Regions from separate parts of the Homo sapiens genome. Here all the other regions are linked to region 2. The links are contacts of gene promoters, found by promoter capture Hi-C in blood cells and fetal thymus (Javierre and others, 2016). All regions are on one chromosome and are shown on one strand. Each heading gives the region's core, a stretch centred on a gene start or on the middle of the fragment in contact. The rest is flanking DNA. Distances are from core to core; before and after follow the strand shown. Region 1 has its middle 110 kb from the start of LINC02370. Region 2 holds the start of ADGRD1 (adhesion G protein-coupled receptor D1). Region 3 has its middle 70 kb from the start of LINC02370.

The links. The method cuts DNA at HindIII sites, captures the fragments that hold promoters and counts their contacts. A CHiCAGO score of 5 or more calls a contact.
Region 1: a fragment that was not itself captured here is called in contact with the fragment with the promoter of ADGRD1 in region 2 in 3 of 17 cell types (M1 macrophages, M0 macrophages and M2 macrophages); the score reaches 6.5 in M1 macrophages.
Region 3: a contact is called between a fragment that was not itself captured here and the fragment with the promoter of ADGRD1 in region 2, in 1 of 17 cell types (M1 macrophages). The highest score is 5.4, in M1 macrophages.

The regions. Positions count from the first base shown.
Region 1 is chr12:131,453,805-131,456,504 of GRCh38, forward strand. It overlaps a transcript of LOC101929974 not described here. Among named protein-coding and RNA genes, the nearest start is that of LINC02370, 110 kb to the left of the region's middle. RefSeq lists an enhancer at 868-1,373 and a silencer at 950-999. The HindIII fragment of the contact is 6,581 bases long and covers 1-2,700 here.
Region 2 is chr12:130,952,653-130,955,352 of GRCh38, forward strand. ADGRD1 (adhesion G protein-coupled receptor D1) reads left to right here and starts at 1,255. Exons shown (of 25, transcript NM_198827.5): 1 at 1,255-1,879; 2 at 1,972-2,008. The coding sequence starts at 1,814. The HindIII fragment of the contact is 10,485 bases long and covers 1-2,700 here.
Region 3 is chr12:131,416,191-131,418,890 of GRCh38, forward strand. No RefSeq gene overlaps it. Among named protein-coding and RNA genes, the nearest start is that of LINC02370, 70 kb to the left of the region's middle. The HindIII fragment of the contact is 1,730 bases long and covers 462-2,191 here.

The DNA of each region.
Region 1 (2,700 bases), core at 49-2,548, 500 kb after region 2:
CTCATGGTGAAGGGGTTAAGAGCATGAGCTTTGGGGACAGGAGGTAGCCCTTGGTTTCATTTCCAACCAATCCTTATTACCTCTGTAATTATATACAAGTTCCTGAAGACCTCTCAGAACTTTTGTTTCTTCATCTGCAAAAGAAGGTCATTGTGATGATGTATTTTATGTAAAACACATAGCACAGAATATAACACATAGTAAGTCCTTAATAAATATTAAGCAAAAGAGGGAAAGATATTCTAACTTTATCCATAACTATCTCTGAATGTTTATAAACAGAGTCCCTAGGGAAATACAAGTGCTGCCTGAATATCTGTGTTTAAGTGTAAACCCATCTAAATAAAATCAATTAAACTGGAAGCAATATTTCATAAGGAAAAGACTAGAGGTTACAGCTCTTAGCCTGCCTGCTATTAACCATCTTTGGGATCTTACTTAATATAGGACTTCATCATCACGATGCAGTTTAAGAGACTGCTTCCTGAACTGTCTATTCCAGACTTATGCTGTGTCCTGGGGAGGTAAGAGGGCTTATACATTGCCCCTGCCCCAACTTCACTAGATCAAGATTTTTCTCACTGATGAAATGCATAGGTGGAAGGTGAGAAAGGTTTTACTAAGCTGATTTAAATTATTTTGATTTTAAAATTAAAATTATTGTGATTTTTATCATTTAATTATTTTGCCAGATGCATCTATTGGGTATTAATGTAATGAATCACAGTTAAAAGTTTTCCCAATTATCAAAAATAAATAAATAAATAAATAAATAAATAAATAAATAAATAAATAAAACAAAGAGCATTTGCAGTGAGAATGGGCTGCAGTAGGGTGAGCACTGATGGGAATTGAAGTCCACAAGCTGGCAGGTGGGGCCCTCGTCCCCGGGGCACATGGCATAGGGAAGCAGGAGAGGCGCCCAGGCCTTGTGGGCCTGAGGTTTATGTGACTGGGAGGGTGTTCCTGGGGAAGACACTACAAAATCACACAGAGTTGCAAGGGACCCTCTCACACTCTGCAGAGGCCCATGTGACACGGCAGGGACAGGAACTGCAAGCAGCTCCACTGCAGGAGCACCTGCCCCCCTTGTGGCCATGCAGGGCATACACAGCCCGGCCATGCAGCAGCTCCCAGCCACTCCTCACATGCCCACAGCAACTATCGCCTAAGGAAGAGACGTCTCCCGACCACAGTCACCAGGCCACACGCTCCCTCCAATGGCTCCCTTCCTTTCTGGGTCAAAGCCTGACACTCCCTGGCTCCTGCCCCCACCCCTGCCTCAACATCTGTGCCCAGCCCCACAGCTCCATCTGCTCCTTAAACCCCCGAGCTCCTTACCTGGACATCAATGTGGTGGGGAAGGCCAGCGAGGAGCCTTAGAGGACGTGACTTTTAAGCAGAATCCTTAAGAAAGAGTGGAACGTGGCCAGGTAGAAATCTGACGGAAGTGTCCAGCAAAGGCAGGCCCGAGTCCCAGGATCCCCGACGGTTAGGAGCTTGGTTGGCTGAGGACAGGTGTGGGCAGCTCCTGCTGAGGCAGGAGAGGTAGGCAGCGCCAGGCAGTCAGGGCCTATTAGGACGAGGACTCACCCAGCCTGAGGAGACTCTGAGGAAACGCGTGATGCAGACAGACTTAAAACTGTAAGAGGCCCCATGGCTGCTCTGGACAGGGAGGGTTGGCGGGACAAAGGCAGGTGGAGGCGCCACGGAGTCTGTTCATGGGGGTTCAGGAGAGAGTGATGAGGGTGGGCTGGCACCGAGGGGGCTCCTCCAAGGGAGGGTTATGAGAAATTCCCTTGGGGCCAAAGGGGATTGACATGTGGTCATGGGAAGGGCAGCCCGGAGACTCCCTCCTGAATAGTCACCAAGGTCCAGTTCCCTTGTGCATGGCGGAACCCAGGCCTGTGGGCGGCTCTTCCACCCCATGGGGTGGGGGCACAGGACAGGGAGGAAGCACTTTGGGGACCCCTCAGAGCCCCGGTTCAGCGAACCTCAGGAGCCCGCGCAACCCACAGCCCATTCTGGAAATGGTGGTATCCCACCCAGGGGCCCAGTGGGGAGGGGAGGTGGGCCAGGCTTTCCACTGTGCTCTCCTTGTCATCTGCAGCTGAGACTCCAGCCCAGCTCACTCCTGTGTCTTCTCGTCCTAATCTCTGACATGAGTACAGTAGGACTCACCCGACAGCAGGTGCTCTCAGATCCCTGCCCATTTCTGGCCAAAAGAGCCTTCAGGACAGCCCGGCAGTGCCAGGAATCGGGAAGCTCATGGGGACCGCAAGGTCTGGAGATGGGAGGGCAGGGGAATGTGTGTGTGTATGTGTGTCTGTGTGTCTGTGTACGTGTGTGTGTGTGTCTGTGTATGTATGTGTGTGCATATGTATGTGTATGTGTGTGTATATGTGTGTGTGTGTGTCCTTCCTGGAGCTTCTTAGTGTACCTGCAAATGCCTCCAAGAGCAACCCACGTGCCTGTCCTGGGCCTGTGGCCCTGATGCCCTTTCATCCATGCCCCGCCCTTCCTGATCTGCTGGGAATTTGTGGGGGTTGGGGGCTGATCTGCTGCGAATTTGTAGAGTTGGGCTTCCCACACCCCTGGTCAGCTAGCCTCAGGCTGAGCTCAGACAGTGAGAGGCCCTGGTGGGTGATGGGGGGCGGGGAGGAGCCAGGCTATTCCCCATCCTTCTCTGCCTCAAGCGCC
Region 2 (2,700 bases), core at 5-2,504:
CCGACCAGCCTGAGCAACAGGATAAAGGTCGTTATTACAGACAGCCCCCGGCCTTTGGAGTTCACAGTTTCTCCATTGCTAGGAGATGGAACTCTCTGGAACCCTTCTCCAGCTCCACAGAGAGGCTCAGGCTATCAGAGGATCTGAGCGGTTGTAGGCTGCAGGCACAAGTTAAAAATAATCACCTAACGTTTTGACAGCACTTTCTTTTTTTCTGTCCCACAGAGATTGGAAGTCATTTTCTTATCCTCTTTAGGAAGTATGTTGGATTCAGGATTCTTAATTCCCATTTAAAGTCAGGACAATTGAGATAACTGTATCAGCTAACATTTACTGGGTGTTATGTTATACTTGCTAATAATAATCATAGCTAACATTTACTGAGTGATAATTTTTCTTAATAGAAAATAGCAGCATTTACTGAGTGCCACATATTTTCCAAGTACTGCCTGAAGAGCCTTGGATCTGTCCTCTAATTTATTGTTACAGCCCTGAGGAGGAGGAACTATTAACCCCCATTTTGTGGATGAGGAATTCGAAAACTAAGAGAGATCAAGTAATTTGCCTAGGAGCACAGCTGGTGAATGTTGGAGAAAGTATGAAGCGGTAAATATTACTTAAATCACATAGCAAATATAGCTGTGACTGCAATTCTAGGGTGTGTGTCTCTGTGTGTCCACGTGTATTTGGAGTAGATCGGATAAACTTTGGTCTTGGGTAAACTGAGGCATGTCTGGCGAAGGGGCTGACTCTTTTCTATCCCATTGAGAACATCCTCCTGGTGCTGGGGTGGGGGTATATGTGGGATGGTGTAATTGCGCAGCGTACCTTGTAATTAATTCCGTAGCTTTCACTGACGTCCGAAAGGATTAGAGAGAAAAATGTGGTCAGCGCTTAATATGGAGGGCACAGTGGGTGTGCTGCTTTCTCTTTTCCATCCCTCTGTCAACTTCATTCTCTTTTGGGGGCAAACAAGACTCAGATCTAAACAGAGTTTATGGTTTGTTTTGCATTTTGTATTTATTAATATTTATGCCGACTTTGAAGGTGCTGACCAGAAGGCATCAGTAACACACACACGCACACGCACACACACCACACACCATGTCTGTTTGGTTTGATTCTGAGCCTGAGATCCTGGAAATATTTCAGCTGTTGTTAAGAGGCTGGAGTTAGGACCCAGGAAGGACACAGCAGTGGGGATATAAATAGAAAAGGAGAACAGAACAAAGTTTGAGGAGAGAGACTTACATCACTCACTCCCCCTCCACCCAGAGAGCAGGACGGAGGTGTGAACTTGAGCCAGACCAGAAGGAGCTCGAGAGCGGCCGCAGGACAAGCCCGAGGAGCAGGCGGGCGCTCCAGGGGAAAACCACGCACAAAACCTTCTTCAGAGAAAAGGGAAGCTCCAAACCTGACTGAGACAAACGGAGGCTCTTGAAATAAAAAGAAAATACCGCAGGACAAACAGCCTCCCGTCCCCGGGCGCAGGTCGCGGTCACAGTGGTGACCTGGGATTGCTTTCCCAGGACTGCGAGTCGGGTTTGGGTTTCTCCTCCCTGCATTCCACAGCTGCTCTGGTCATCGCAACGTGTTTATTGATCACTGAAGAATCTCAAGTTTTGAGACGAGGAAGAAACACCCATTAGGTCTCCAAGACAGCTGTGTTTCACAAACTTTAAGGAGACAGAAATTTTCTCCCCTGGAACCTGTGAAAATGTCCCTTTTCCAAGGAAGTGAAGGTTAAGAGGTCCCGTTCTCACAGACCCTCAGGAATTTCACTTGGCTCCGAGCTTTGACCTCCGAGAGAGCCATGGAAAAGCTGCTGCGGCTGTGCTGCTGGTACTCCTGGCTGCTGCTATTTTATTACAACTTTCAGGTAATGTCCCCAAGTGGCCAGGATGGCGACAGGCTTGGTTTCTCCGGAGGCTTTCCCTGAGTGTGTCTCACACTGTGGTCTTTTGTGCGCAGGTGCGTGGCGTCTACTCCAGATCGCAGGACCATCCAGGTAAGAGTGTTTCCTTCTCACTCTGAGCACCGCTCTCCCCCTGCCTAGTGCAGGTATCTCAGGAACAGCCCACTTGTTCATCTCTGAGGCATCAGCGAATGGCCCTTGTTGGGCTCCTGGTCCCCGACCTCACTGCCTCACCACACACTGTGACCCTGGGCAGCTCTGCTACCCCTCACCGGCTGAGCGGTGGATGGAGAAGTGGTTCTGGGCCCCTTGAGCTGGGTCATATGAAACATTGTGATTAAGGAAATATGATCTTCATTTGAATGCCTTCTGCCTCTTTCTTTCTCTCTTTCTCTCTTTCTTCCTTTCTTCCTTTTTTTCTTTTTGAGATGGAGTCTTGCTCTGTTGCCCAGGCTGGAGTGCAGTGGCCGCAACCTCTGCCTCCCGGGTTCAAGCAATTCTCCTGCCTCAGCCACCTGAGTAGCTGGGATCACAGGTGTGCACCACTACACCCAGCTTTTTTTTTTTTTGTATTTTTAGTAGAGACAGGGTTTCACTATGTTGGCCAGGCTGGTCTCGAACTCCTGATTTCAGGTGATCCGCCCGCCTTGGCCTCCCAGAGTGCTGGGATTACAGATGTGAGCCACCACACCCATCTCATGTCTTCAGGGCAGATTCACTGGTGGGGAGTTGGAGCTCTGGCCCATAGCAGGGTCTCGGGACCTCCAGCCTCAGAGTGCTGACCA
Region 3 (2,700 bases), core at 77-2,576, 460 kb after region 2:
CTGGACAGCTTATTCTTGGAGTGTCTATAACAGGAGAATCCCCATTTTATTGAAGCCACTCTTATGTGGGTGTCCCTGTTCCCACAGCTGAACCCTCCTGACAGATGCACCTGTTCCCACGCTGGAGCCGTGGACTCCCTTCCCCTTGTTCCTCAGCCCAGATTCCTGCATCCTCAGGGATGTGTTGCCAAGCACCAGGGGTTTGGTTAGGTCCAGTTACTCATCACATAGAAAGCCAATCACTGAGACAAGTACTGCCAGAGAAGAAAGGCTTGAATGCAGACCAGTCCCAAATGAATCTCTCTAACCCACTAGTTAGGAGTAAGGAAGAGGAGTTGGCCAACAAACAGCAAGTCTCATTGGTTGGATGCAGTGATCTGGGAAAGTTCAGTTCCTTGATACTATCTGGAAGTCCTGACGGTTGGTTTCCTGAGACATGAACTCAGATAATAATCTTCTCAAGCTTTGTTTCTATGGGGAAATTGGGCCAGTTCCAGAAGCAGGTTTGTTTGGGCCTCAGTAGAGGGGGGAAGGTCCCAGGCATGGTGGTCCAAGGATGCTCTATGAAGCCTGGCTCTGCTGTCTGAAGTTCAAGTATATTCAACTCACAGAAATGCATCCTCCACCTCCTCTTTTCCACTGGTGTGGTTAGGCTGTGTCCCCACCCAAATCTCATCTTGAATTGTAATCCCCACAATCCCCAGCTGTCATTGGAGGGACACAGTGGGAAGTGATTGGATCATGGGGGCAGTTTCCCTCATGCTGTCCTTGTGATAGTGAGTGAGTTCTCATGAGATTTGATGGTTTTATAAGTTTGCAAGTTCCGCCTTCATTCATTCTCTCACCTGCCACCTTGTGAAGAAGGTGCCTGCCTCCTCCTCACCTTCTGCCATGACTGTAAGTCTCCTGAGGCCTCCCCAGTCATACGGAACTGTGAGTCAATTAAACCTCTCTCCTTTGTAAATTACCCAGTCTCAGGCATTTCTTATAGCAGTATGAGAACAAACTAATACATCCGCCTTCTCTCTTTCTTTTTTCCTTGCACAGTGAAAGTATCAGGTAATGACACTGGCCATTTATAGAGCACACCCTTCACCAGGCACTGTGCTAACATGTGTGAATGATCTCACTGATACTCATGGCAGGCCTATGGGTGAGGCCATGTTTGCCTCCCCATTCTACAGCTGTGGAAACTGAGGCTCAGGTCCTGAGTACCAGCACATAGCTGGCAAGTGGGCAGGGTGTGGACAGGGCAGTCCAGCTCCAGAGCCCTCTGACCTTACTGCACAGGGAGATCCTGTCACTGCCTCTTGTCAAGCAGAAGAGCCTAGCCTCTGTTCAGGATTTGTTACTTTCATAATATGTCCCCATGGAACAAGCCATTGGTCCCCCCAAGTGGTGCTCTCAGCCAATACTTCAGGTGGCTTCTCCTGACTGCCCCATCTGTGCAGGGTGTAGGAGAAATAGATGTTCTCTGAGGGCATGGCCTGTGTGGCCAAGACTGTGAAGGCCCCACAGCCCTTTGGAAATGTATGGGAGGTTGGCCACAGGGCCTTGACCAGCTTGGGCCTGCCATGGTCCTACTGGGCCAAGGTCCAAGAATGGTCATCAAGAGCCTGGAGGGTGTGTCTAGGGCTCGCCCTGGAGTGGACACGGCAGCCTGTAGGGGGTCTCTGTCTGCACCTCTCCATGGTGTAACCCAACAGCCTCTATGTCCACCCGAGGCTTGGACCTCACTTTGAGGCTGGGTGGGCAAGCCTCTCCCACATCACTGCCCACAGCCATGTCAGTATCTCCTAGGTAAGGAGCTCCCTGCATTCCCCTCTCAAACTTGCTTCTGCAGAGAAGAGTTTGCTGAACAACTTCTGAGCTCAAGACCCAGTGAGTTCTTCTGTTTCTGGCTTCTTTTACTTAGAATGATGCCCTCCAGGTTCATCCGTGTTATTGCGAATGGTAGGATTTCCCTGTTGGTTGGCTGGCTCGTGTTCCATTGTGTGTGTACCTTCACATTGTCCTCATCCATTCAGCTGTCGGTGGGAATTTAGGTTGTTCGCATATCTTTGCTGCTGTGACAGTGCTGCAACGAGGATTGCCGATATCTCTTCCAGATCCTAAGCTCAGTTCATCTGGATAACTGCCCAGAAGTGGGATGGCTGAATCATACAGCTGTGCTAGTTTTAATTTTTTGAGAAGCTTCCATATTGTTTTCCATAGCAACTACATCATTTTACATTCCTTTCTGGGGTATACGGTGGTTCCAACTTCTCCATCTCCTCACCAGCACTTACCTCTTGTATTTTTGATAATGGTCTCCCAACAGGTGTGGTTTGGATTTGCATTTCCCCCCTGATTCATGATGTTGAGCATCTTTTTCATACACCTGTTGGTCATTTGTATGTCTTCTTTGGAGAAATGTGTATTCAGGTCTTTTGCCTTCGATTCCATTTGTAGGAGGCCTCTAAAATAGTCAAACTCATAGAAACACCGTAGAATGGGGGTGGCCTGGGACTGGGGAAGGGGATGTGGGGAGTTGCCGTTCAGCTGGTATGAGTTTCAGTTCTCCAAGATGAGTAAGTTCTGGGGATCTGTTGTACAACACTGTGCCTATAGTTTACAATGCTGTAATGCACACTTAAAAGTGTGACAAGAGGGTAGATCTCTAGTTAAGTGTTCTTACTACAATTAGAAAAGAAGATATAT